5 separate regions of the Homo sapiens genome follow, and regions 2, 3, 4 and 5 are each linked to region 1. Evidence: promoter capture Hi-C in 16 types of primary human blood cells and fetal thymus (Javierre and others, 2016). All regions are on one chromosome and are shown on one strand. Each heading gives the region's core, a stretch centred on a gene start or on the middle of the fragment in contact. The rest is flanking DNA. Distances are from core to core; before and after follow the strand shown.

Region 1 (5,743 bases), core at 1,647-4,146:
AGGGAGACTTTAAACCCAAATCACTACTTCTAAATCCCAGGAAACAGTTGCAGTTTTCAAATTAAAATGCAAAGTCCTGGAAATAATATTCTGTAATTGCTAATTTTTTTTTAAATTCAGTCTTTTGACTTCATTTATATTTTTGCTGCTATACATGAAACAAACGGAGACTGAAAAGTAATTTAAATGGACTGTTAGCCATTCTGGGCCTTGAAACAGCTTCTATTTAGAAAGACTGACTCACTGCCTAACAAAGATTCTCTGCTAGTCTCTAAGTTGACATTTTATAAATATCTAATCACCCTTTTTGGATGATTTTCCAATTACTGAAAACAGTGTCTATCACAATGAAGCAGTTCACTCGGAAAGCATCCAGTTCTGGTTCAAATTGAGAAATATTAGAACCCCAAAGATACACAGTTCAGGGGAAAGCTGTCACCGGGGAGGACAGGTATATAGTTCGGCCAAAAAACTTCCTTAAGGAGCACTGGTAGATTTATGCAAAAACCCAGAGGAGCAGAAGACAGAAACATTCTTTCTCCAGAATCCCAAAACAGTAACATTTCCTAGCAAATCCATGAATAAGACTCAGCAAAAAAAAAGGGCCTCCTTAACCATGTGCAGTTTTTTAGGCAGGCTCTTGAAATTTATTAGATGAAGTCCCTTTGCCCTGTTTTGCAACAAGAGGAGCAACAACGCTCATCTGAAATAAACAAGAGAACTGCTGCCTTTTGGTGTACAAAGAGCCAAAGTTCATCCTAACTGGCTGGGAGATAACTAATACCAACGGATTAAACCATCATTTGCCAAAGGGAAACACTGATAAGGCTGGGAGTTCTATTTTACAACCTGAGCACCCAAAATACTCATGTAGTCTGTACAGTTTCCAATTCTACATGCTCTCCAACCACAAAGAACGTATGGGGATCTGCTAGCACACACAGAGGCTCCCACACTGATTAAAAATGTCCATCTGCCGCTCGATGCCAAAGAGGTTTCCCAGTCCTAAATTAGCCTCAGCACAAAAAAGGGGGGGAGGGAGACTCAAACTCATAAAACTACCTAAAAGACCTTAAGATGATATAATTTGTCTTTGAAAAGACCATTCAATTAATTAGAAATTGACACGTTATTAAATGGCAAAGGGAGAGGACGTGGGGAACCAGAAGGGCCAGAAACAGCCGCACTCCCTGAGACCCCAGAGGGCACTGAGGCTGCAGACGAAATCTGGGGTGCTCAAGCTTCCACCTGGCCCGACAGAGCTCCTGGCGCCCAGGTGGAGGCAGCTGCGGACGAGAGGAGGCCAAGGAGGCAGTTCCCTTTAGAGGGCGCTCATTGGGCGACGTGGGGAAACAAGCTCCAGCCCCCGAAGCGCGACCAAAAGGAGAAATCAAGTTCCCACCGCCAGGGCGGGGGAGGGAAGCTGGGTGCCGGCAGGCGCTCCGCCGGAGACGAGACTCCTCCCGGCCCCAGAAGCGCCCCGCCAGGGCCAGAGAGGGCGAGCGTGGCGGGAGGGAAGCCTCTGTCCCCCAGCGGCCAGGCGACCCGAAGCCGAGCGCCGTGTCACACGTACCCCGCCTCGCCCTGCTTGCGGCACTCCCGTGTAACTCCTATGAAAATGTCCTCCCGTCCCTGACGCCCCGCGGTGCAACCTCCACCCCTCAACGAGGAGGGGGTCGCCGCAGGACTGGGAATCCAGTGGCCGGCGTCCCAGCATTTTCGGACGCGTTCCGTGCCTCCCCCAGTATCCCCTTGAGGGATCGCCTACTGCGATTCCACGTAGTGTCGGTTACCTCGCCCTAGCCGCAGGGAGCATCAAACAAAAGAACTTTTGCAAACTTTTCTCTCTGGACACTCGCGGGTCTCTTAAATCTGGCCCCCATCTCCCCAGAACTTGCATGCAGTCAAACAGGAAAGCTGGCGCGGGGGGGATGGTGTGCGGAGGAAGGGACCCCGAAGTTTCCAGGTCATCCCTGGTCTCGAGGAGCGCGCGGAGTGGAGCCGTTCCCTCGCGGGCCCGACCCAGGCTCCCCCCTCCTGCCACCCTTTCCCCTCCGTCCTTCCCAGACCACGCAGCAAGACCCGCCGAGGGCGAAGAAGTTGGGAGTGACTTCAGGGGCCTCTGCGGCTAGACCAAACCGCAATTCTCGGTGCCCCCATTCCCGCGGACCGCGGGGTAACGCCAGCGAGCAGCGCTTTTCTGAGGAAGGGAAGAGGGGGAAAGGGTGACCGGACGAGCGCATTTGTCCCAGCGGATCTCCGGTGTATACTTGGGGACTGGGGGTTCCCCAGGTGGCGCTCCCCTATTCCCTGCGGGCTCCTCTCGTAGCTTCAAACACCCTAAACGGCGCGCGCATCCTCCGCCTGGCCCACTCACCGACTCCGCCGACACGCAGGCCACCAAGCCCAAGGTGAGCAGGATCCACGCGCGCCGCATATTCCCCAGGGACCGGCTGCTCCCAGCCGCTGCTTGCAACCAGGGCAAAACGAAGCCTCCTGCCCAGCGCTCGGCGCAGCCCGCGCACACGAATCCGGAGCAGAGTACCGCAGCGATTGCGGCTCAGGCTCGGGGACTCGGGCTCGGGGCTCGGGGGCGCTCGCTTCCTCCTCCTGCGCCTGCTCCCGCCGCCCGCAGCTGCGCCCCGGGAACGCGGCGCCCTCTCACTTGTTGGTTTCTGCACTCCCGACACGGAGTTGGTGCTCCGGGAAGGCTGCTCTCTGAAGCTCTTCTTGCTCTGCTGTGGTTTTGCTCCTCCGCGGACTCCTTTCCCGTGCCGAGGTTCAGTTTCTGGTTTTAAGGAATAAATTCGCTGGCTTGAAAGGGAGCTACGGCAGAAGTTTAGGGGCAGAGCGGCGGGAGCGCGCGATCCGCGCGGCTGGAGCTCCGGGGGTATCTGGAGAGCAGCGCGTCCAAGCGGGGCCACTGGCTCCGCGGCTGCGCCCCTCCTCCTCCCGCGCCGCGCCTCCCTCCCCGGGTCCTCCTCCTTCTCCTCCTCTTCTTTTCCTCTGGCTCCCTCCCTCCTGAGCCTGCTTCTCCGGGCTCCCCTGGGCGACTGGGGAGAGGAGGCGGCAGTGTGACTCCCAGATAAACCCGGGAGAAATTCCTACAGGATTACACGCCGATTGGCAGCTCCGAGGACCAGTGGGCGCCGCGGCTCCGCGCTGTGGCTGCGCCGGCTCTGCTCACCGGCAAGCCAGGGCTCCTGCGTTTTCTCAGTCCTTTTCTTCCTTTCTCTCCCCACTTTTCCTCTCTCCTCTATGCTCTTTTCTTCCCCGTTGTCTTTTCTCTTTCCCTTCTTCACTTTCCCTTTTCTAGAGAACAATTAGTGAAGAAACGAGAGACGTATGTAGCTTTTCTGCCTTGAGAATTCGACCAGTAGAAAGAAACTGCTTTGTGAGTTGAGGGAAAAAAAAAGTGTAAGATGCTTTCAAGCAATGTGAAGTGTTCATAAATCGCCAGTTCATGAAAATTGCATTTTAAAAGAGAAGATAATTAATGTAATAAATATATAGTGAGAGTGTTTCCCATTCTCCCAAATCCTTCCGCACCCCCAAAAAAGGGACATGGAGGAAGGATCCTGTAAACCCAAAGTGCAACAGTTTGAAAGCTCCTAACTTCATTAAGGGCTTAAATACCATTTCTCCCTCACACACAGTTTATGCCACTAAGGCTTTTTATAGGCTCCATTTTAGCAGATAGGTGTTAACGTTTGGAAGCTACAAATAGGGTAATTTGATGAGAAGTTGGATAGAGACCCTGAATAATAACAGATTTAAGATAACTTCAAAGAAAAGAGGGATAAAGTAATTCTTAGTTTGAAGAAAATAATGAACATGTATTTCCTAAATGGAAGTAGCTGACATGAAATATTTTGTTACAATGTCTGTGGCATATTATAGAACATGGCAAATGCGTATTCCCTTCCAGTTTCTTTTTCTTACTGTCACAAATTTTACACACAAATCCCTTGCAGTTCGTGCCATCATTTTTCTCTCTGACTTATAGAGTAAATGAATTATGACGCCATTCTGCTCCTGGAATGCCCACTACAGGAAACCAGAGACTTTTCTGTCTGTTCACCATTGTATTCTCATTCCTGGTACATAAAGACACATGATAAATATTATCTTGAATAAATTTTGCTCTAAAGCTCAATTTATACCGTATAAGAGTTGTGAGCCTTTAAAATACACCAATGTAGATATATAGATATGAGGCCATGGTAATTTTTCAACTCAGTATTAGAATAAAATACAGTCATACCCTCAGTGAGAATTAAATGTCTTAGTAACCTATTACTGTAATAAATCTCAAAGAAAGAAATTTAACTGGAGAATTACAACTCAAACTTGGAGACACTTATTCCTTTGGTTTTGTGTGCCAGCTACCAAACCTACAAATGCTCATGAGCAAGTCTAAGGCATTGGCCAACAAAAAGGTAATATGGAGAAATAGAAGAGTAGGCAAAGGAGAAAGAAGAAAAAGAGCAATAGGCCAGAAGTTGTAACATCAGATGATGCTTCTGATTCCACAGACACTGTAGCTGGCATCTGTGCCAATGTGGGCTCCACTTAGCTTTTGAAAGAATGAACCACAGCCTTTTTTTTTTTTTTTTTTTTTTTTGAGACAGGGTCTCATTCTTGCCCAGGCTGGAGTGCAGTGGCCTGCACTGTAGCCTCTACCTCTCAGGCTCAAGCAGTCCTCCCACCTCAGCTTACCAAGTAGCTGGGACTACAGGCACAGGCCACCACACCAGCTAATTTTTGTGTTTTTTATAGAGACAGGGTTTTCCATTGTTGCCCAGGCTGGTCTCAAACTCTTGGGCTCAAGTGATCTGCCTGCCTCAGCCTCCCAAAGTCCTGGGATTAGACACGTGAGCCACCAGCCTAGTGCCCTTATTTTTAAGATGGAGTCTGTGGGTTGAAGAGGTTCATGAGATGGGGAGACTTCTTAAAAAGGCCTCCAAAGGAAAAGCAGCAATGCAAAATACATGCAAAGAGCCATAAAATACCAGCTCTGTCCTCATAAGAGGCCTCGTCTACTCGCCAGCCTTCAGGCAAGGCCACACCTCCATTGTCCCCAACAGTTAAGTATTCATCAAATAAATTGGAATTCCAGTAAAACAGGAAGTGCACTCCACTGATTTGCTGGTTCTCACAGTTATTGCTGTTTACTGGGGCACCCATGTAACAAGAAGCGTGGTGAATGCTCTCTGATTCAGCTTGGGCAGACAGTGATAAAAAATGAATAAGTGGATACACGTGTTGAAGGGATATTATCTGTTTGCTGCCCTGAAGGCACACCCCAAGGCTCTTGGTGTTGATGAGATGCTCAGTGACTTGTTTCTTTAAAGATGATAAATACTCCATTGAGAGTATATATAATAAGGGAATTGGTACCATTTTGAGTGACACAATATTAAGGAGATGAAAACAAATATTCAAGATCTTGTGTTCAGATTTATTAACAGCTGTGGCAAGAAGGATAATCTGACAGTATAAAAAGCACTTACACAAGAGCTGGCTACAAAGAGGTCACCCATGCTGAGTGGGGATGGGGACAGAAGTCAGGGGAGGTCCGCTGGTATTAGTCAGGATTTGTCTAAATTCGCAAACGATGTAGGCCTGTTTGTGTGTTTTGCTAATTGGAAATGTTTAAAAAACTGATGGGGACTAAAATTTGGCAGAATTTTGTGTAGTATATCTAATTCACTAAGTATAGCTTGTGACTAGAACCAAAGGT
Region 2 (5,743 bases), core at 2,102-4,601, 700 kb before region 1:
ACATAGCCTGTCCTTAGCATGGGAGACTCGCCCTCTGCTACAGTGTTATTGAATCATCCTGGGCTTTTTCTCACTACTCGCAGGTGGTATTTCTTCATGTGATGTCACTGCTTGGAAGAGAGGTAATATTCCCCCATTCCACCCCACCTCAGAACTCCTCATCACTTCCTGACCTCCCAGCCTCACTCTGTGTCCAGAGATTCAGATGCAATCAGAACAATTACCTGAATAGTCAACTTCTTCCCCCACAACTGGCTTGCTTTCCCGGTAAAGACGGTGTCTTGTCACATCCAGAAAGGCCAAAGTGTGCCCACTTCCTGGCACCACTATGGACAGAATCCTGGGAGCTGTGCTAGGAGAGCATGTCACCAAGAAACGGCAGGTCATAGGAAGTGGGGGCAATATCTCTTTTTAAATCAAAGAGAGAGGACTGTAAGTACAAGATCCACAAAGATGGTTTTGATGACTCAAGTCCTGATACTGTTTGGAGAGGTTGTTACTGGGGACAGGGGAGGGAGACAGGGAGGGAATGGGAGGGGAGAACAGAGAAATGCATGACCCAGTCTGCCATCTACCATTGACAGGAGGATGGGAGGTGCTTTTTCTTTTCTGTCATTTATGCTTTCATTCTTGATTTTCCTGACTCTAGATCCCCAGGGCCTTCCTTCCATAGAGTCCTCTGCCCTCTGTCAGCTTGGTCTATTTCCCAGACACCCAAAGCAGCCTCACTGACATAAACTGTTTATCCCCAACCTGATCTGTGATTGCACCTCACATTGGCCACTGGGCATAGATCAGCATCCTGTAACCATTTGTGCTAGTTAGTTATTTTACAGGGTTTTGGGGGGTCTATTTTTGATATTTGTGTTAGACATATATTGTATTCTCCTTCTTTAAAAAATAGATTAGGCCCATTGCTAATACTGGTCATATACTTCATCTTTTTATGTTTGATGAGTTTTATAACATTAATATAAATGAGCATACATATGCCACTCATATTTTACACTTGAAACTTAAAAAAATATTGCTTGGAGCATTTCTGCCAAAAGACAGCTTTTAGGATTTTAAGACAGAATCCTTATCAGGATCTCCTGGGGACGCAAAATTTAGCTTTTAGTTGCTACCTGAAGACAATCATTCTTTATAAAACTCAATGTCTCCTTTCAGATCTTTTGAGGGATGTTGGGAAGATCCCTCTGCCCTCTCCCTGGGGCCCATCATATGTTCTGCAACAGGCTAAGTTCCTGAGTTCTCAGGGGGACTGCACAGGAGTCTGCACCAAATGGACATCCAGGACACCCCTGCATCCTAGACTGTGTGTTTCTTATGCAATCCAAATGGACTATATTCCTACATGGAGATTGAGTCTTAGTGATGCTTTTCACAATAGTGGTGGCACCTCCAGGGGAAAAGTCACATCATAGTCCAGTTTGGAGGGTTGCCGAGCCACTCACTTTCACGTTTAAGTTTCCAAATCCCGAGTGTGTGAGAAATTAATCACTGGACATCTCGGGAGATAGAGTGAACACTGGTGGTTATGAATGAAGCTTCATTTAAGCAAGTTATTACACCTTTCAGGTATAATCAACTAACTGCATCTGGGATCCCACAGTGATGGATTTGTACCCAACTCCATAGCCTTAATAAAGTGAAAAACAGACAAGAGCTCAGACTTTATTTTAAAATGTACATGCTTTTGCTTTCCATTTCTTAGAAAAAAAATGCATAGATGAGATAGTAGAGTATAATGAGTAGAACCAGGGGCTCTTGAAGTCAGAAAAATTGAGTTTAAAACCTCAAATCCACACTTTGTAGGTGGGTGGCCTTGGACATTGTCTTACTTTGTTTGGTGTTGCTATAACAGAATACTTGAGACTGGGTAGTTTATACAGAAAAGATTTATTTGGCTTATAATTTTGGTGGCTGGAAGGTTCAAGATTGGGCAGCTGCATCTGCTGAGGGCATCAGGCTGCTTCAACTCATGGTGGAAAGTAGAAGGGCAGTGGGTCTGTGCAGAGATCACATGGAGAGATAGGAAGCAAGAGCGCTGACTGAAGAAGCCAGATTCTTCTTAGCAACCTGCTCTCTCCAGAACTAATCCATTCCTGAGAGCGAGAACTCAGCCCAGAAGAAGGGCCCTAATCTATTCATGAGAAATCTGCCCCCATGATCCAAACATCTCCACTAGCCCCCACCTCCCAATACTGCCACACTGAGAATCAAACTTCAACATGAGTTTTGGAGGGGACAAACGAAAGCAGACATATTGTTTAATTTCTCTCAGTCTCAGATTATTCAGCCGTCAAATGGAGATAATCACACTGACCTCACAGAACTCTTAAGAAGAGTCAAGGACACAATGGATCTAAGTGTTCAGCACAGCACCTCGTAGCTAGAACTCAGTCAACAGTAGGAAGATAAGGAAATGAAAACCAACCTGGCTTTTGAAAGGTTTGAAATATTGAAGAGAGATTTTCCTGGTCTCATTGAGATCTCCAGATTTCTTCTTTTGCTTGGTGCCTGTACAGGTTGCTGTCTCTAAGTCAGTGGCTGGAGCAAGTGCAGCATGGCTGGAACTCCGTCGCTGTCAGTGAGGCATCCGCTCAAGGACGGCAGCCTACTGCACGCCAGCACCTTGCTCTAGGATTGCCCCAGCTCTTTCTGTGGAAACCTGGAGCCTGATGATAAATCCCTCTTACTTGAGGTAACTTGGAGGCAGTTTTTTAGAGTTAACATAGTTTAAATAAACCATCGATCTCGAATCTAGATCAGAAGATGGAAAACTTTTTATATAAAGGGCCAGGTAGAAAATATTTTAGGCTTTGTGGCCCATATGGTCTCTGCTGCAACTATTCGATTCTCGTAGCATGAAGGCAGTCAAAGATAATACATAAATGAATAGGTGTGGCTGAGTTCCAATAAAATTTTATTTATGGGCACAGAAATGTGAATTTCACATCATTTTCTTGTGTTGTAAAATATTCTTCTTCTTTTAATTTTTCTAAAAGGACATTTTAAAATGTAAAAAATACAAAAATAGGCAGTGTACTAGATTTAGCCCACGGGCCATATAGTTTGCTGACCCTGATCTAGAAAGATGTTTTGTTAAAAATGAAATTTATTTTTCACAGCTCTAATGATTTACTGAGAATTGTGACAAAGTAGTGATATGTTGCCATTTTATTTCAGAGAAATTCTGACCTAAGCCTGAAGGAAATTGCTTTCTAACAAAATAAAATACATTTATTGAATCTTAGGAGATAAGGTTCACACTTTTATATGTGGCTTAATCCCCACCTGGGGCATACAGGACAGTAAGACCTTTAGATTTTACCTTTTTGTTAACTAAGCGTGGTCTCAGGCTTTGCCATATTTTGTTTAATTGGAAAGTTTAACATTAGAAGACATGGGGCAAAATAATAACAAAGCAACAACAAATGACAAACACATTTCGCCCTAATCGATTATACTGAGTCCACACTATTGACTACCTCAACTTTGAAGTAGTTGAAAAGAAATACAGGAAAAATAGGAAATGCTGAATGCCCACCATATATCTAGAATTGTTACCACCATTCTACAAATGAAGAACTAGTACTCATTTAAGTGTTTTTTTTTTTTTTTTCAAAGCTCACACAGCTAATAGATGCATAAGCTGGAATTCAAACATAGCACATATGACTTTTTTTCAACTTTTATTTTAGATTCACGAGGTACACGTGCTGGTTTGTTACATGGGTGTATTGCATGATGCCGAGGTTTGAAGTACGAATGATCTATCATCCTGGTACTGAGCATAGTACCCTGCAGTTAGTTTTTCTGCCTTTCCCTCCTTCCGCCTCTTCCCTTTAGTAGTCCCCACTGTCTATTGTTGCCAACTTTATGTCCACGAGTACCCAGTGTTTAGCTCCCGCTTGTAAGTCAGAATATGCAATATTTGGTTTTCTGTTCCTGTGTTAATTCGCTTAGGATAATGGCCTCCAGCTGCATCCATGTTGCTGCAAAGGACATGATTTCTTTCTTTTTTATGGCTGTGAAAAATAAAATGTTGTATCTATCACCCTACGTTAGCTTTCCGCCGGTTAAATGTGTGTGTTTATTTAGTGCCGACCATGCCTGCCCTGTGCTAAGTTCTCCGTATACATTATCAGAACTTCAAGAAGAAATCAACCAATCCACCATCATAGTGAAATATTTCAACACACTCCTCTCCATAATTGACCCATGAATTAGATACACTGTGTCACTTTTAATGTGCAGGTAGATTTTATCTTTCCTATTTTACACTTGAGGAAACTGAGGCTCAGAGTGGTGGTTAACTTGTTTAGGGGCCACATGCCGAGCAAATGATAGAACTGAGATATAACCCGGATGTCAGGATTTCAAAGCCCAGGAGATTTGCATTGACCTTCATGGCTTCCCCGCACCCACCAACCTCAAAGTCATTTAGAAACTTATGGGATAGGCAAAAAGGAAGACCTGGAGAGGTAGGGACAGAGTTGAACACTGACCTTTCAATCTTCCAAATCCCAATCAAGGGTTTCTCCAGAGAGTTGGGTTCTGTTAGGGATAACATTGAGGAAGTTTGATCCAATTACCAGCAACAGGAATAGTTATTTGTATTAGGTTTTGTTTTTTAAATCACACTGAACAAGCATTACTATCAGCCAGGAATTAATGGCCACACACAGCGAGAGACACCCAGGAGTGAAGCAATAATTACTGAGGTCATCGACCTCACTTCGGGGCAAAGCTGACTTAGGGGTCCTGTCACTGCTGGAAATGACAGGATGCAAGTCAATGGATGCCGAGCCACCCTGGGTATAGTTCAAGCCTGTCTGCATTAAAATGATGTCAACTAGATTGAGGGCATTTGGAGACCAGAAAGATAAATAATAATAGCTTTGAAAGGGGCTGACTCAGGAAGGTCAGTTTCTGATTTGACAGAGTTGCAATGGGGGCAAGTGATGACTGAAGATTCCTTAGGAGAGCCATTTGCCTGCACTTGGCTTGGGAGTAGAAGAAGGAGGTCACGTGATGGGTTTGAATTGTTCCAGAGGTCGTGAACCAATCTCTTTTAAACAGAGAGAGAGAGAGATGGGTTAAAAAATGAGAAAGAAGCAAAATAGCAAGAAAAACTTGAAGCTTACCATAGACCAACATTGGGATAGCTTCTAGAAGGAAGCCTGTGTGTGTTTATTGTGGGAGAAGCTAAAGTAGGGTGTAAAAATGAGATAATAAGCAAACAGGAGCGAACAATCTTGGCTGACAACGAACAGCAAGGAAATGCTGGGCCCTATCTGCTTTCTCCCATTATTACCAAAGTGAGCAGATTTCAAGGTATGAAGCCATAATAGTAGATAGGAAAGTTTGCTCCAAGGCTCATGCCCATGGGCATGTGGGGAACACAGGGAGTGCCAGAGATGACAGGAGGATGTTCCAGCTCACATTTCTCCCAGAAGCAGACCCTGAGGCAAGAATCCAAGTGCAAATATGGCAGCCCCCTTATCTATGGGTGATACGTTCCCTGGTGAATGCCTGAAACCTGCAGAGAGTACAGAATCCTATACATATATATATATATATATATATATATATATATATATATATATATATATATATAAAATGTTTTTTTCTATAGATACCTATACATGATAAAGGTTAATTTATAAATTAGGCACAGTAAGAGATTAACAATAATAACTAATAATAAAATAGAACAAGTATAAAAATATACTAT
Region 3 (5,743 bases), core at 975-3,474, 660 kb before region 1:
TTATCCACAGACACAGCAGAACCCTCAAAACCACATCTTAACAATGTCAAGGGCAAAATCAGCAATCGACCTCCTTTCCCTCTAGCTTCCTCCTTTTTTTTCAGTGACAGATTTCACCCTTTTCACATGATACAATATTTAAATGGGTTTCTCTTCTCAATTTGCTCTTAAGTCTACTCAGCTAAATGAATCAGAAAAGCAACTTGACCCTAAAGTCAAATTGGAAGGTGGCTGCATGCATAGAAAATAGGCCACCACACAAATGATATACCATTTCTCAGCAGATAAACAGTTCTTTTTAAATTTATGGAAAACAAGAGAATCGTACTTAAAAATGCCTATAGCGATAGTTACTCAATAGCTTGTGCCAGGCTGCAAGATTGCCTGGTACACCCTAGCAATTATGATGTGCAGGTAGAGTTTTCATGAGAGGAAAATAATTCTACAGACCACTCTTGTATTAGGCTTTTTGCTTTGCTACAAAGGAATACCTAAGACTGGGTAATTCATAAAGAAAAGAGGTTTAATTGGCTCATGGTTCTGCAGACTGTACAAGAAGCATGGCGCTAGAATCTGCTTCTGATGAGGACCTCAGGAAGCTTATAATCATGGTGGAAGGGGAAAGGGGAGCAGATGTCTCACATGGCAAGTGTAGGAGCAAGAGAGAGATGGGATAAGTGCCACACACCTTTAAACAACCAGATATTGTGGAAACTCACTATTGTGAGGATAGCACCAAGCCATTCATGAGGGATCTGCTCTCATGACCCGAATACCTCATGCCAGGCCCCACTTCCAGCATTGGGGATTACATCTCAACATGAGGTCTGGAGGGGACAAACATCCAAACTATATCATCTTTCTTCCACCCTCTCTTGTTCTAACTCCCACATACTTCTTCATACCTCCCCTACTCTTATTGCTATCGATAACCACACTCATCAGCACACTCCCCTACCTGCACACAGTCACATTGTCGCCCCTACCCAGACCCTCCGTACTCCTCTAATAAGGCAGCAGTAAAGGGGCCCAGCTAGAAAATGGGCCGTTTATGTTATCATTTGGCCCCATATAATTTTTTGTTGTTGTTGTTGCTAAGCAAACAGACAATTTTACGGAGAGAATGAATAAGATCCATTTCTTCAGAGCCACTTGTAGGATAAGGCAATGGGGGTACAATCCCTAACCCTATGCCAAAGGTGGAGGTGGAGAAAGGGTCTAGTTCCCTGGAGGAACTAGAATGGTACAGTGACTCAGGAGGCAGTGGGGGAGGAAATGACGATCTTGCCAGCAGCTGGTGGAACTTTGAGACTATAATACAACTTTGTGAGTTTCTCTCTTCTAAAGTTGCTCTGAAACCTAAAATTCTGGAGTGACTGGGGTAGGTGGTGGTAGCAGTGAGTGGAGAATACAGAATTTAACTTACTCTGGGCTCCACCATCTATGGGGATAATCTAAGATGTTGCTCAGAGCTGATAAGCAGAAAGCACAGCAGCCCCAAGTCAAAGGGAGGTGGAGCTCATTGGTGTGGCAGTGTTCCTATAAGAAGTTACTCTTTGCTATTACTGAAGGAAAGGGAAGAAATTTAGTCCAATAGGACATAAATGTCCATCTTAGAAAGCAAAAAGGAGGCAATCAGTCAGCCTGTGAATTTTTAATGCTAATTATAAAACTGGATATAACTTTTCTAGAAAATAACTCTGAAATCCAATAATGATGACTAGATAAACTACAGATTATCCTTGAACTGTGGTAATTCATAGATACCAAGAACATCCAAGTACTACCAAATAGAAGTAGTTACTGTGAACACCCTTAGCTTATTTCTTACCTTAAAAGAAATGTTTTCAGCATTTCATGTTAATTATTGTATTTCTTTAGTTTTTTTTGTAGATGCTTTTTATCTGGTTAAGGATGTCGTCTTTAATTTTTACCATAAATGGATTTTAGGTTTTATGTGACTCTTTTTCTTCATCTACAGATGATTGGATAATTTTGCCCTTTTAAATTTGTTAATGTGATGGATTAAATTAACTGATATTCTAATGATAAACCAATCTTGCATATTTGAGCAGACTTTGGACAGTTCAGAAAATTTATGTGAATCTACATACACAGATTGGAATCAAGTTGTGAAAAAAATGAATCAAAATGCATTAAATGTAAAAGGAATATAAGTATATTCGTCAGACAAAAATTAGTGGTCTGACACCCACTTCCAACCAAGTAGGAGTAACAGGGACCAGACTTACCTTTATGCATGAAACAATTAAAAAATCCGAATACAATGTATTAAATAACAGTGTTCAAGACACCAGACACCAGGAAATGAGGAGCAATGATGCCCAACAGGCAGAAAACGAATGAGGTGAGCACTATGATGGCCCTAGCTTACTTCCTTAATAGAGTTTCCAGTTACACTGTGGGGAAGGGAAACCCAGGCAGAGCCCAGGAACCACCATGAGTTGAAAAGAGGAATGTGAATGTCCAGAGAGGCTGAGGCAGCTAGAATTCACAGGACACAGTGTCACGGAGGATAGTTCCACACACAGAGAGAAGGCCAGGGAGCTGCAGAGGGTCCCACCTTCCCACAACTTCAGGTGAGTACTGATCAGTTCATGCATTTGCGGAAATGATCAGAAACTGGGGAACGAACAATCTGGAAGGAATATAGAAAATAATACTAGGAACTCCTGTTCCTTCAGTCATAGAGAAAAAACATCATAATCTATAGAGCATCAAGAGTACTTAGAAGGGTTGAGCTTTAGTAGTGGGGCAAAATTAGCCCTAGACTAAATGTTGCTCTAGTTTCACCTCATTGAGCTTGGTTAAAGAATCAGGACATGCTACATATCTAAATCCCGCATGAACCTGAGAGTGACTGACTGTCTTTTGGATTGAGCTGAAAGACACCATCTTGTATGCTACATGACCAATATTAATCACTCAAAATATTTCCTTGTGTCATCAAGGGCCACTGTGATAGAAATTATTACTCATGTGGGTTACTGAGTGGTGTCTCCAATACAAATCTCCATTTCTGACCACTTGTTTCCTTTCGTGAAGATAGGATATGAATGATACCACCTAAAGCACAATTGTGATAATGACCTCCCTCTTTGGTAGTTTCCATATTTCCTTCCTAAGAGTTTCTTCTCTCTTAAGACAATTCCAGGACTTTCCTGGAAAGGCACTCAGGCTAGCTCTCTCTTGACAGGGCTTCTTGATGGAAATTTTCATTTTGTCTCCACCATTACTTCAAAAAAGGGAAGGAAGGAGGAATGGAACTGAGAAATGAATTTGCTGTAAAATAGAAGCAGCTAACATTCCTCAATCAGGGGACACATATTGTGGACCTACTATGTACTGGGCACTGTTCTTGGTGCCCTTAAATTAGGGAAACAACCACTTGTTTTCCAACTGTTCTTAACAAAAGACTGCAGAGGAGGTATGAGGTAGCAGTCCAATTTAAACGTTTACTTATAGATAACTGTTGTAACATTTATTGAAAAGTCCACCTTTTTTTTACAGATCATCTATACCAACCTGTCATAAATCAAGTTTTTGCATATGTGGTTCTGGATCTGAACTCTAGTCTGTCCCATTGGACTACTCACTTATCGTTTTGCTAATGCTATGCCATCTTAAAGACAATAAGTTAAGTCTTGACATCTGGCAAGACAAGATAAAAAATCAGAATAGGCTACATTATGTTGTGGCAACAAAACCTCCACAAAATTATTAGTGGCTTAACACAACAGAAATTTATTTCTTAGTCATGCTTCACATCCATTGTGAATAAACTGGAAGCTCTGTCATTCCTTCTTATCACTCTGGATCCAAGCTTGTGGAGCAGGCATTATCTGAAACATTGCCATTTGCCTTGGAGAAAGAGACAGTATGGCAAACCATACAGGGAATTTTACAATTTCCACTCAGAGGTGTATGATCTCTTTGAAACATGAGTTTTAGTTGCTTAATATTTGGGCTTTGCTCTTTTTCTGTAAGTCCTGTGTAGAAGCTCTTCTCATTGAACACCCAACAGTTAAGTCCAAAACAAAACACCTGCTGATTTTTGCTTATATTCATTTGCCAAAAGTACATAGTAATACCAAATTACAAGAAATCAGGAAAGTACAATCTTGCCTTGAAGGAAAGTGGAATAAGGGGCTATGATCCCCTACTTTTATTGTTTTTTTTTCAGAAATAGTTGGCTGTTATTAGCCCTTAGTAGTCCAATTACACTTTAGATTCAGCTTGACACATTAAATAAACAAACCAACAAACCAAAATCAAGAACTCAAAGCCAAAACACTCCATTGTAAAATTTTGATAGAGATTGTATTGACTCCATAGATAAATCTGGGGAAAATGAACATCTTTGCTATGGAGTCTTCCAAAACATGAATGTCATATTTCTCTAACTATTTAGCTCTACTTTAATATATTTTAATAAAGTTTGATAATTTTTATCCATAAAACAATCTCTCATCATAAAATTTTTTTCTAGACTCTTTACATTATTATTATTTTTAGAGACAGGGTCTTCCTATGTTGCAGAGGCTGGCCTCGAACTCTTAGACTCAAGTGATTCTCCTGCCTCATCCCTCCCTAGTAGCTGGAACTACAGGAATGTTGGTGTGTGCCAATGAACACAGCTAACATTTTATATTATTTGATGCAAACGTAAATGATATCTTTTTAGTTGCGTTTTCTAAGTATTTGTCTAGAAATATTTTTCATTTTTTAAAATTTCTTTTCTTGAGCAAACTTCTTAAGCCCCATTTTTAATTATGATACTTTTTTGGTAGATTCTTTTGAATTTTCAATGTAGGCAATCATATTTGTCTACAAGTAGAAACAGTTTTCTTTCTTCCTTTCCATTGCTTATACATTTTCTCCCGTCTGTGGAAGCTAGAATATCCAAGTACTACCAAATAGAAGTAGTTACTGTGAACACCCTTAGTTTATTTCTTACCTTAAAAGAAATATTTTCAGCATTTCATGTTAATTATGATATTTCTTTAGCTTTTTTTGTAGACGCTTTTTATCTGGGTAAGAATGTCTTCTTTAATTTTTACCATAAATGGATTCCAGGTTTTATGTGACTCTTTTTCTGCATCTAGAGATGATTGGATAACTTTTCTCTTTTAAATTTGTTAATGTGATGAATTAAATTAACTGATATTCTAATGATAAACCAATCTTGCATATCTGGCAGAAACTCAACTTTGTCATCATTTATTCTCTTTTTCTTTCACTAATAGATGCAGTTTGTTAATATTTTGTTCAATTTTTTCATTTATAATCATGAGTGAAGTTGGCTTGTGATTTTTCCAAACGGTCCTTAATTAGATTTTGGTGTTAAGATTGTACTAGTCTCATAAAATGAGCTTAGAATTAATTAGTCCTTCTTCTATACTGTAAAATAATTTTGTAAAATTGAAATTATTTATTTAAAGTTTGGGAGAACTTACTTATAAAACTAAAGAATTTATGTGGTGGGGGGTACATTTTAAACTAGTGATTCAATTTATTTAATGTTTCTAGAGCTATTAAAATATGAAGTTTATTCATCAACTCATTTAAGTAATCACATTTTTTTCTAAACATTGGTGCATTTATTCAAGATTCCAAATTATTGGCATAAAGCTTTTAATCAGTAATTTTCAGTATTTTCAAAGAGCCAAATCTTTGGCTTTGTTGATCCTTTCTACTGAAGGCTTGTGATCTATTTCACACA
Region 4 (5,743 bases), core at 2,073-4,572, 640 kb before region 1:
ATTTTGAGAGAGATGTGTGAAAATGTCCCTCTGTGAGATGTGTGAAAATGTCCCTTTGTGATTTTGAATATTCCGTAGTTCCAGTAATTTTTTAAAATATATTTCAAAGTTATGCTGTTAGGGGTATACAAATTTAAAATTATGTATCCCTGGTAAATTGAAAACTCATCTGTAATGTTGCTTTTTGTTCTGGAAGTCCAGTTTTTCCTAATAATTAAGATAGGCACACCTAGTTCTTTTTGCAGAGTATTACCCTGGTATGTCCTTTCCCATCGTTTTACTGGCAGCCTTTCTCTATCTCATACTTTTAGGAGTTTCTCTTATGAATAGTTTAGAGTTGAATTTTTTTGCTTCTATCTGTTTATTATGTTTTCTAGGTTTCTTTTTTTTCTTTCTTTCTTGCCTTCTTTTGGGTTGATTTTTTTCCCTTCTCTCATTCCTTTTCCCTCCAACTCTATAGTTTGGAAGCTACATGCTTTATTTCAATTCTGTCAGTGGAGACCTTGGAAATTATAGGTTACATATTCATCTTAATAAGTCTAAAGTTAATCAATATCTTATAAAGTACACTAGTGGCCCCAAGTTTTGTACTTGTCCTAGATGCACCCACTGCTCATTAAAACCCATGCTCTAGGCAAACAGGGATTAGCAGACAAATGCCAGGCCCCAGGGTTTTCTTACTTCTATAGATTTTCATTATTTCTATTATTTCTCACCTCTGAGGAATTCCCTTATTTTGCCTCTTGCTAAGTCATGTATTATTAAAAGGCAATTATTATTATATCCAATAACTATTTTAGGGAAGGGGAGGTATGTTTCTATGTGTTTCTGGTAACCACATTGCTAGGATTTCCCTCTTCAAATCCCCTACCTCCTGTCTTGTGGACTGGACATTGCCATTGTTCTTGAGCCCTCCATTGCCCCAGGATGCCATCTAGATTTTCTCCAAGCCCAACCCACGTTCTTACAACTTTGTACCAGAGTTTTCCCCTATCTACTCCCATAAACCCCTTGCTCTGGGGTGGAGTACTTAGGATGTCAACAGACAGATATAGGCACAGGTATTCCAGATGAACAGAACATGTGAGCGTTCCAGTTTGGTTGACACTGGGGGGTAACTTGGGCTAATTATTGGCAGATAAAGTTGGCAACTACCTGTGGAAGGTCCTAAATGTCAGGCTGAAAATAGACTGAATGTAGTTCATAAATGTGGAGCCATGGTGGTTGGGAGGATGAATGAGAAGGTGGGGTGACTAGAGATGCACCTTAGGGAGATGCTCCAAAAAACATGAAGGAGAAATTGTGTGAACAACTACGAAGGTGAGTAAACAGCTGGAGAAGAGGTCCAGTCTGAGGAGAAGTGAGAGGGACCAGGGCCAGATGATGACATCTTGACCTCCAGAAGGCACAGATAACCACATTTCCCAGTAGAAAAGCCAGAAGTCCTTTTTTTTTTTTGAGACGGAGTCTTGCTCTTCGCCCAGGCTGGAGTGCAGTGGCGTGAACTTGGCTCACTGCAAGCTCCGCCTCCCGGGACTACAGGCGCCTGCCACCACGCCCAGCTAATTTTTTGTATTTTTAGTAGAGAAGGAGTTTCACCGTGTTAACCACGATGGTCTCGATTTCCTGACCTCATGATCCGCCCGCCTCGGCCTCCCAAAGTGCTGGGATTACAGGCCAGAAGTCCATTTTAAAACCAGAAAATACTTTATGCCATGAACTCACAGCACACCCAGGGGAGACAAATCTGTATGTTTACTCTGGTAGTAGCTAGAAAGCACTTTAACAGAAACTGTGACATTTTAGAGTTAGTTGAAGCTGGTGGGGAGTACATGCTCTCTGGACCCCACAGAGTATCAGGTGAATGTCAAATTCATGTACAAGGACAGAGTCAAAACCTTCAAAGAACAGAAGTCACTGAGGGTGAATGGAGGATGAATTAGAATTGTGGATGTCAGGAAACAGGAAGGGACATTTAATTCCAGCAGACAGAGCTTGGAACACTTGGGGCTGTTTCCTTCCCAGTCAGAGCTTCTTAAAGACACGGCATGGTGGTCGACAGACAAAGCCTCCAAATTCCATATTTAAAAAAGAGAGGCAAGAAATATTTGTCCATGCCCTCTTCAGAGCTCCAAAATTCTCAGACTGAAGGAATTTGGCTGCCTTCCTTTAGAACTAGTGACTTGAAGAAGGCATTTCCTCAGATATCATCTAAGTTCCCATGAACATTCTACAAAACTAAAACAACTCCAAAACGTGTTCTATCAATCACTAGTGAGAATGCTGATAACTGCAGGAGATACCAGGGTGGGCCCGCTGGCTGGCTTGCAACTTTGTCTCTGTAGTTCCAAGGAGACATTTTATCAGTGACAGCTACTGATCTAAAAGATGGGCACTGAGGGAGATCCTGCACTTCCATTTCTGAGAGCACCTGACATTGCAGGGTGGGTGGGTCAGGGGGAATGTTAACTATCCCCAGGGATAAATTGCATAGGATCTTCTGACAGGTATATGAGCTCTGAAGAGGGAGTCATAAAATGCATTTATGAAATGGAAAGCTGGCAGAAGGAGCCTGCTCTGAAGGCAAATATTCTCCCCTGGAAACAAACTACAGCATTATTAGGGCAGTTTCACTGTTAGGAAATTATTTCCAAGGGAGGTTTGGAGTTTAAGAATGTGAAGACATATCCTTCAGCATGTCAGCCAAGGAGCCATTGCACCTAGGAGGGAGATACAGCTGAGAGAATATGGGGTTTAGAGGCAGGTAGGGCTGGGTTCAAATTCAAATTCTTCTGCTTAAAACCTGGGTGACTTTGAAAGAATGATGTAAAGCCATTCAACTTTAGTTTCCTCAATCAGCAAACAGGGCTAATGATATCCAACTTCCAAGATGCTTGTGAGGATTAATAGGTACTCAATTAATTCTTTATTATAGTTGTTATACAGCCACAAAGATGAGCCAATCTATATCAACAGTATCATGATCAATTCATTACAGCTTGGAAGATTTAAATTCCAATTTAATAAATCAAAGTTGTGACGATCGCTTTTTAAAGACGGAACACCTGGTCTGTGATTCTAGTCTATATGACTGCCTTGACCCTGGTTTGGATTATTTTCCCTCTTCCTCCTTCCCTTGCTCCTTCTCTATGAATCTTTTTTTTTTGTAAACACTCATCTCACAGAAAACATTTTCCAGCTACGTGACTGGGTGAAGACCATCTGATGAATATTATAAAAAATACCTGAGCTGCCCCATACTGTTCACAGCAGATTTCAGCCTTCACAGGGTGCTCTCACTAATGACTGTGGCTTGTGCAGAATGTTGGAACAAGACTGAATACCTGCTAATTCCTGAAGAGATGGGTGGGCACATACACAAAGATTCTCAAAGTCACCATTATTATAGGTTGACTCTCATTCATATGTAATCAGTGAGTTTTCATGTACACAAATTAAGCAATTTGTGTTATGAGAAGTTTTTGAAAGACGTTTGAAAGCACTGAAAGTTTAAATTCAAGTCTGTTATTTTAGTGCATATACTGGCTACTGTGGTTCTGTGTGAAGGATGCATTCACAGGCGAGCAGCTGTGGGAAATCCATTTCTCCTTTTATAAACACATCTTGAACAGTCTGGGGTATGCAATTTAATTGCCATGGAATATATTATAGATATTCCCTGATCATAATAATTATGGGGTGAGGGAAGAATGTTATGGTCTTAACATATTCCTTGCAAGAAAACTTAGTCCCTCTAGAATCCTTAAAATACTAAAAATACATTTAAAATTTAATTAAAATTATTATTATTTTCAGCAACATTAGCAAATGAAAAACACATACACATTATTACCAAAACAATTAGAAAATCAATTCATGGGATTTGCAGACACTTAATCTCTCTTTTCAAGGGGGCAGTTTAATCCCTACTGTATTAAATCTTATTGAAAATTAGACTCAAAAGCAGTTCATTAGCAGCTTCCTAACACATAGCTCCCTAGAAGAGAAAGCAACTCAACTCATAAGAGGGGGAAAAAATGAAAGGAAAACAAAGGACAGGACAGGACCAGAAAGTAAAAACAAAAAAAATCCTCAATCACAAATCCATTAAAAGTATTCTACTTTTAGTTTCTAACTCTCAAGCTACCCAAGAATCTCCAAACTTGGGCTAAAAAGTTTTAGGTGCGCCACTAAGCCCATGTACCTTCTATCTCTTTGGAAACCTTGGCTTGGCTATGGGCATAATTTTGACCAAATAGTTTAGGTCAACACCAACACCTCTGGTGGACTTGCAGGTCCCACAGTATCTGAACTGTGTGATAATGAGTCATCTCTGTAAGGTGGTAAAACTGTGTGGCAGCAATAACTAAGACTAGTTAATCAGTACTACATGAAGATGATGCTACAGACTCCCCAAATAGGGGAATTACAAGAATAATAGTCACTGCTTGTTGAGTGCTTTCTGTGTACTGAGGGCTTTCTGGAGATGATTTCATTGAATTGGCCCTATGAGGGAGAGATCTTCATGTGTCTTTAACAGATGGAAAATAGATTTTAGTAACTTGTCTGATGTCATACAGTAGTAAGTGGTAGAAATAGAATTCAAACCCAGGTGTCTCTGATCTGAAATCCATGCTCTGTACCTTCTTCACTGCCCTATCTCGGGAAAAAATGTGCCTTTTCTCCAGTGGGAAACCATTTGCATGACTTGCTTCATTTGCAGCTCTGATCTCCCACCCCTATTCTACTTTATGACAAAGAGATGGAAACTTGGGTCGGAGGTATCCTGGACCATGAAATAGAGTAAAGACTTGAATTACATTCATACAGTGGGCAGAAGATGAATGGCAGCCCTACCTGACACCAAGCCCATCGCTGTGGCCGGGCCACACTCTGCAGGCCTGCCAGTCCTCCTGGGACTCCCTGATCGTTCAGTCTAAAGTCCACCCCTCCATGTGGTCACTCATTATCTCCCTTACCTTCATGCTGCTGCTTCTTTTTCTTTTTCATAGCACTATCTACCAGTTGAAACAATATTATCATGGTTTTATTATTGTTGTCTGTCTTTTCTGCTAGAATGTAAGCTCCTTAAGAGCAGGGGCTTTTTCACCCCAATCCTCAATGCCTGGCACTTAGTGGATGCTTAACAGATATTTGTTGAATCACTGAATGGGTAAATGAAAAAATTCTTAACATGTAGTGGGACAAAAGCAGAAATAAAGATTGACTCCATCCTCCTTTTCTACAGCAACTTATGGTAAGTAAATCCCACTTTCTGGGAGTTCTACTCTCAGCTTCTGCCTTGGAGAATGACAAGTCAGTTCTCCTTACCAAAACCATGTGAACATATAGCAGTATACAAGTTGAGATCCAAACACTATTATGTAGAACTCAGTATGTTCTTATACCTTTCACCACTCTTATAAAAATTATTCATGACTTAAAAATAAAGCAAAAAGGTAGGCAGTACATTCTTTCAATGTCATTCAGGGGCCAAGTCCACCCAAAGATTATTTATTAGAATGTACTTATTTTGACTCACTGCTTACTGTTGATTAAAGGTCCCAGATTTAGTGAAGTTACATGTCAACTTAAAGATGTCTAAAAGAGATGAAAATGAATTTTGTCCCATAGAACAGATATCTCAAATGTTACAGTTTATTGGCTTCTAAGACATTAACCAGTTTTTATCTAACCCAGCAATTTTATCCTAATATATATTTATTAAGTTGCACAGACTTGG
Region 5 (5,743 bases), core at 1,953-4,452, 540 kb before region 1:
GAGAAGTCTAAAGACAATCTAATTTACCCTTGTGGTTTGTGACTTGCTTATTATATTAACTTTTAAGTTAAACTCAGCCACTTTTGAAATGATTATAGTCTTAGTAATGTCAATATCAATATGCTAATCATAAGAATCCAGAATAAGTCCTTTGAAATTGGCTGTATCATGTAAAGCATGCACAATGTCTTTTTAAAGGCGAGGTAAAGAGTTACTGTAAAACAAAATGCCAATGTTTTCCCTTTCTGGAATTTCTTCTTTCTATCTCTGAAAATGCAATGCAGACTAGCCACCAACATGAAGCTACATTTGTATGGAGGCAGCCTGGATGCTGTCAAGATAAAGTAGTTCTGTTTATGTGATTGCATGTCCTTTGAGTGTGTGTATTTCTGCCAACCTCAGAATTTTAGGCATTTCCGATTTCATCCATGTGCTTTGATAGGCTACAGTGAAACTCACATTACAGAAAAATAAACCTTCTTTTTTCACATTCTAGGAATTTCAGTGATGATAAAATTTTTAGCCAGATCAATTGCAATTTAAATCCAATATTTTTCTTGGAGTAGAGTGTATTACTGAGAATAAAAGAGGGCACGGTGGCTCACACCTGTAATCCCAGCACTTTGGGAGGCCGAGGCGGGCAGATCACAAGGTCAGGAGATCGAGACTGTCCTGGCTAACACGGTGAAACCCCATCTCCACTAAAAGTACAAAAAATTAGCTGGGCGTGGTGGCACACGCCTGGAGTCCCAGCTACTTGGGAGGCTGAGGCAGGAGAATCACTTGAACCCAGGAGGCGGAGGTTGCAGTGAGCCAAGATGGTGCCACTCCACTCCAGCCTGGGCAACAAAGTGAGACTCCATCTCAAAAAAAAAAAAAAAAGAATAGTTCTTTTAACTATTCTTTTTTTTATATAAAGTCCAATATGTATAGAATTTTAGAGCTTCTTCTTAAAAATAAGTTACTCTCTTGCCTCGAGGATAAAGTCCGCACGTCTAAATATGATTCATATGTTCTTCTTGTTCAGGCTCTTGTTTACGTCTCTGTTCCACCCTCCTACCACTGTGCATCTTGCATTCTATGCAGCAGCCACTCTGAATTCCTTTCCATTTCTCTGGTGTGCTTTCCTCTGTCTCATCTCCTGCCTTTGCACACACAGGTCCCTCTGCCAAGGTGCAGTACCCACCTCCTCCCTCCCTCTCCATTTTCCTTAGCTTACTTCCACTCAGTCTTCAGGTCTCAGCTTAGATGTAATTTCTTTCCCAGAAAGACTTAACACCTTATAATTCAAGTTAATCGTCAGTGTCCTTTAGAATGTAGGCTTTGTAAGGTCAGGGTAGATCTTTTTGATGCTAACATTAATGCATAACATAGTGTATGGAACATAGTACATGTTCAGAAAATATTAATTGAATGTTGCTGAATCTAGAACAACCCTTATATGATGTTGTGGTCTACCACAACACATAGAAAATGATGTTACTGACCTACCAACCAAAGGACACTTGTCTTGAATTATGTTATCCCCAGGATCACCTGAGGCCAAAAGAACTAAAGTGGTGAAAGAGTAGGGCATAGGTCATAAGTTGTCCTTTGTACAGTAAATAATTGTATTCAGTGACCAAATTCATGACTTTGAACTCATTATACTCTAACTGACTGAAATAGGGTAATAGAGACTGACTTTGAAAAAAAAAAAAGGTCAAAAATAACATACACACAATTCACAAAAGAAACCCTTCTCCGATTTGGATAATTTAAGCTTGCAAGATCTGCTTCTTCTCATCTGGACATTCAGGGGAAACCATCCAGCAGCAGCAGCAGACCAAATGCTCCTCTCTGGGCAACCATCACTGCTTGCCAGCATATGCGCGTTGATTTTGGAGTTCCTCTTTGAACTAACATTTGACTTGATCTAGAGTATTTCTCAGCTTGTATATTTTGCTGTCTCAAAATTTGCTCTTGATATTAATCTCCCTATCCCCTCTCTTCCATGTGGTCTTGTATTTCTAATCATGACCATCCACAATAACCTTCCTGCTTCAAGCTTCACACTTGTGTAATGACAGCTGGTGTCAAACCAAGCTGTCCTCCACATTCCTGGGACAGAGGCCTGTGGCTGCTGCCATTTCCACCACCATCATGGCAATGCTCTTGGCAGACTCAATGACTTGGAACCTGGCTCTCAAATGCCAAGGCTTCTGGGAATATGGCGGGCATTGAGGTATGGGGATAGGCTCGGTGGGGAGAGGGAATGTTTGCCTATAACTATTTCTCTGACATACATGAATACAGCAGAACTAGGTAGACTTGAAAAAAATGGCAGCATGGCAATTGGAATTTTTCTTTGGCCTCAGACTGTGGTGTAGAAGAAGAAAAGCCCTCAGCTCTACACCACAGCATCATTGGTTTACCAGTGCATTCTCATTCACAGGGCTGGAGGGAGAAGGCTCATACAAGGGTGTTTCCTAGGGCCAGTTGACCAGAAAGTATTATTGAAGTCTTAAATGGACAATGAGAGGGATTTTTGTATATTACATGTACAAATGCTTAGCAATCCACAGCTGGGTTTTTACCTTGTGTAACTGATAATACTGGAAGGCACCAACTCCACCTTGTTCTTCTGCAGTCCAGAGCACCAGCCGCAGAGTCCTCTTTGGACGCAGCCCTGGGAAAATAATAAAATAAAAAAGTGATACTTTAGTTGATTTTGAATTTTATAAAAAAATGGCAGGGTCCCTCATCTGCCTTGTGGAGGAAGGAGGAAATCAGAGGCATTCAACTCTCACTGGTGTGGTTGTCTCCTTCAGGGTATGGCCAGCACAGCAAAGGAGCAACTTCAGGGCTGATCTCCAGGCCAGGTTAATGGAGAAAGGGGTTGTGACAAATGCAGTTTGCAGGCCAGAAAGTGAGAGCCTCTCATCACATCCTTAACTTGATATCCTGCCCAGCAGAACCCAATGGATGGCCAAGATCAGTGAGATATTAGATCATATCTGGAAGATGCAGTTAGGATGACCCCAAGCATATTGTGGGGTCTTTCAATGATCTTAATTGTAATTAAATCATTTGGGTCTACTTCAGGATAAGCCATGTAGATTACTTTTTAGTCTGAATATACAAGCATAGCTAGATGCCCATGCTATCTTCAGTAATGTAATAACTGAAAAGCAGATGCAACAGTTATGCTTCTCCATGGCCAATTTCTTCTCCTACTTGGAAATAGAAGGTCATTTCCTTAAGGTCAATGAAAATTAATTGAATGAGGATGACATTTATTGACCTTATTACTACACAAACAGCTTGGTGGCAATTTTATTGACTTGTGATACACAAATTTGTATCCTGGACTTATTAAATTTTATGGCAGATGAAGTGGCTCCAGAACCATTTTTGGCTGACAATGTCAGCTCAGTGAAAGTTACCTACAAGGAAGCTGTTTCTGAAGTTAAAAAAATGGTGAGAGTATGCCAAAAGTGCTACTTTGTGACCAAGAATTAATATCTGTTCTGACTCAGACTGATAATGGCATTTCTGAGAAATAACAAAGACAGAAAAATGTGAAGCTGTGCTTAAATCTTATTAAGAGGATTCGTTTTCCCACCTCCTCATGGGGAGCCATAGGGAAGGGTTAAAATGGACTTTGAGTGGCTCTGAGATGGACACACCACATATCTCAGGTATAACCACATATGTGCTGCCACCCAGGTGTGTGGCTTTTGAAGGAGCCAGCTGGCTAACTGCAGCCTGGATGACAAATGCTTCTGGGACACAGAGCTCTCTCCTGCCTCTTCCAGGCTCCAAGAGGCACTCTCCTTTCCTAAGCCTAAGGAGCTGAAAAGGAGGAGCTACAGTTTTTCATGAAATTGAATATAGTTGTGAAGTCACTTTGTACTTCAGCATGTTAACATAACTTAAAAAGCATAGGTTTAGGATGCAGGCTGACCATAGTTGCAGTTAAAACATGGACAAGCAATTTCTACATTCAGTTCCTCAGCAATCCCATTGGTGTTTCCATCTAAGTCCATATAAAATCCAAATTCTCATCTTGGCCACTACTGTGGTCCAAGCCCCGCAGTTGTCTGGATTGCTGCAGTGGCCTCCTAACTGGGCTTGCTGCTGAAGCCCTCACCTCTCTTCAGGTGATGCTTCACACTGTAGCCAGGAGGGTCTTTGTAAAAGCTAAGCCAGATCATGTCATTTCTTGGCTCAAAACCTCCAATAACCAGAAGTAAACTTCTGGAAGACAGGGATCTATGCTTTTTATTCATTGTAATGTCGCCAATTCCTAGATTGTTTGACACACATTAGGTGCCCAATAAATGGTAATGAAGGAATAAATAAATGCAAAGCTTAGTGTCTTGATTAGAATGAAATTTGAAGCCACTTCTCCAGTCTCATCTTCTAAAAGTCTTCTGCTAGCTCATTCCCAGGCAAGGTGTTATATTTGAAAAAGGCAGACAGATCTGGTAAATCCTGCTATCATTAGGCACTAGCTGTGTAACTACTGGGATATGTATTTACCTGAACTTATGCCTCTTTATCTGAAAGATGAAGATAATATTATGTGCCTATGCCATAATCCTTTTTCAGATTAAATGAGATATGATAACACATGTAAGACAACCCTGGGGCTGGCATGTAATTGGCATTCAATAAGTGAAAAATAAAACCACATAACACACTTTCACCTCACAGAGTAGAAGGAACATCTAAATGCTCAGAGAGGAAATTCTTCCAAAGGCCTTTGAGTACTTGGAGAAAAAGAATTCTAGAGTGCCCACTACTTGCTCCACCGAGTCAAACCACCTGCCCACATTCATAGCACAAACTTAATAAACTGTTGTCTGAGGAAGAAATCTAATCAGGATTGCCAAAGATAACAATCTTCGGTTTCTTTCAAAGGAATGTGCTTAAAGTCAATTTAAATGAAATTACTTGCTTGTAATATAGGCAAAAATAAGAAAGGATAAAGTACTATTATTGTTTATAGGCTGCAAATAAAAATTCTAAACATTTTTTAAATCCACAAGAAAAGAAAAAAATACACTTTTTTTTACATATCTCCGCACCTACCAGTAAAATATTACCAAATTATTAAAATGACGAAATTCTCTAAATAAGAATAAACAGGCAGCACAGGCTACAGAATATTCATTTTTTAAAAGCAAATGCTCTGAATATCCGTATAGATTTTGTGTGCCAAGTGAAAGTTATTATCCTACAGGGTTAGTCTCCTTTACATTCCAAATCAGCCACATGGCCAGTGATGTATTAAGGTAATAAAGAAGTAATTGATTTGAAGTGAGGAATGCTAAGGCCTCAACACAACAACAGCATAGTTGGTGCACAGCTGGCCCTAAAAAGACTAACAAGCCTGCTCAAGCCCTTGAGAAGCTTAGTACTCATTAGCAGGGAACCCTAGCACCTACTTCACAGAGTGAAGGCCTTAGGAAGAAGTTAGGAAGCCAGTGGGTTAGCAAATGTTGAATCCAAAGTCTCTTTCTACTCTGACAATCTGATTGTCCCTGAACCTAAGAGAAATGCGTGAGGTTTCATTCAAGAATTAGACCTTAAACCTAGTGGGGAGTTCAGGTCCCCAGGCTACCTAAATCCATGATGGACGGTGTAGGGTACAGAAAGGCATTGGCTGTGGAGTCTGAGCTGTGTTTTACTCCTGGCTCTGCCACTTCTGGCTCTGTGAGATTAGATTAATTATAATACCTAATCTCTTCATCTATAT

The links. The method cuts DNA at HindIII sites, captures the fragments that hold promoters and counts their contacts. A CHiCAGO score of 5 or more calls a contact.
Region 2: a fragment that was not itself captured here is called in contact with the fragment with the promoter of SDC2 in region 1 in 1 of 17 cell types (neutrophils); the score reaches 5.3 in neutrophils.
Region 3: a contact is called between a fragment that was not itself captured here and the fragment with the promoter of SDC2 in region 1, in 1 of 17 cell types (neutrophils). The highest score is 5.6, in neutrophils.
Region 4: a fragment that was not itself captured here is called in contact with the fragment with the promoter of SDC2 in region 1 in 1 of 17 cell types (neutrophils); the score reaches 7.4 in neutrophils.
Region 5: a contact is called between a fragment that was not itself captured here and the fragment with the promoter of SDC2 in region 1, in 1 of 17 cell types (neutrophils). The highest score is 5.0, in neutrophils.

Annotation. Positions count from the first base shown.
Region 1 is chr8:96,490,966-96,496,708 of GRCh38, reverse strand. It overlaps SDC2 (syndecan 2), which reads right to left and starts at 2,896. Exons shown (of 5, transcript NM_002998.4): 1 at 2,378-2,896. The coding sequence starts at 2,437. The HindIII fragment of the contact is 13,490 bases long and covers 1,244-5,743 here.
Region 2 is chr8:97,189,905-97,195,647 of GRCh38, reverse strand. The region is part of intron 2 of LOC101927066 (a long non-coding RNA gene); the gene reads left to right. Among named protein-coding and RNA genes, the nearest start is that of TSPYL5, 85 kb to the left of the region's middle. The HindIII fragment of the contact is 3,598 bases long and covers 1,553-5,150 here.
Region 3 is chr8:97,151,057-97,156,799 of GRCh38, reverse strand. The region is part of intron 2 of LOC101927066 (a long non-coding RNA gene); the gene reads left to right. The region is part of intron 1 of LOC105375655 (a long non-coding RNA gene); the gene reads right to left. Among named protein-coding and RNA genes, the nearest start is that of TSPYL5, 120 kb to the left of the region's middle. The HindIII fragment of the contact is 3,245 bases long and covers 602-3,846 here.
Region 4 is chr8:97,133,603-97,139,345 of GRCh38, reverse strand. The region is part of intron 7 of CPQ (carboxypeptidase Q); the gene reads right to left. The region is part of intron 2 of LOC101927066 (a long non-coding RNA gene); the gene reads left to right. Among named protein-coding and RNA genes, the nearest start is that of TSPYL5, 140 kb to the left of the region's middle. The HindIII fragment of the contact is 6,767 bases long and covers 1-5,743 here.
Region 5 is chr8:97,026,328-97,032,070 of GRCh38, reverse strand. CPQ (carboxypeptidase Q) reads right to left here. Exons shown (of 8, transcript NM_016134.4): 6 at 2,577-2,668. All of the region lies in intron 2 of LOC101927066 (a long non-coding RNA gene), which reads left to right. Among named protein-coding and RNA genes, the nearest start is that of TSPYL5, 250 kb to the left of the region's middle. The HindIII fragment of the contact is 2,305 bases long and covers 2,050-4,354 here.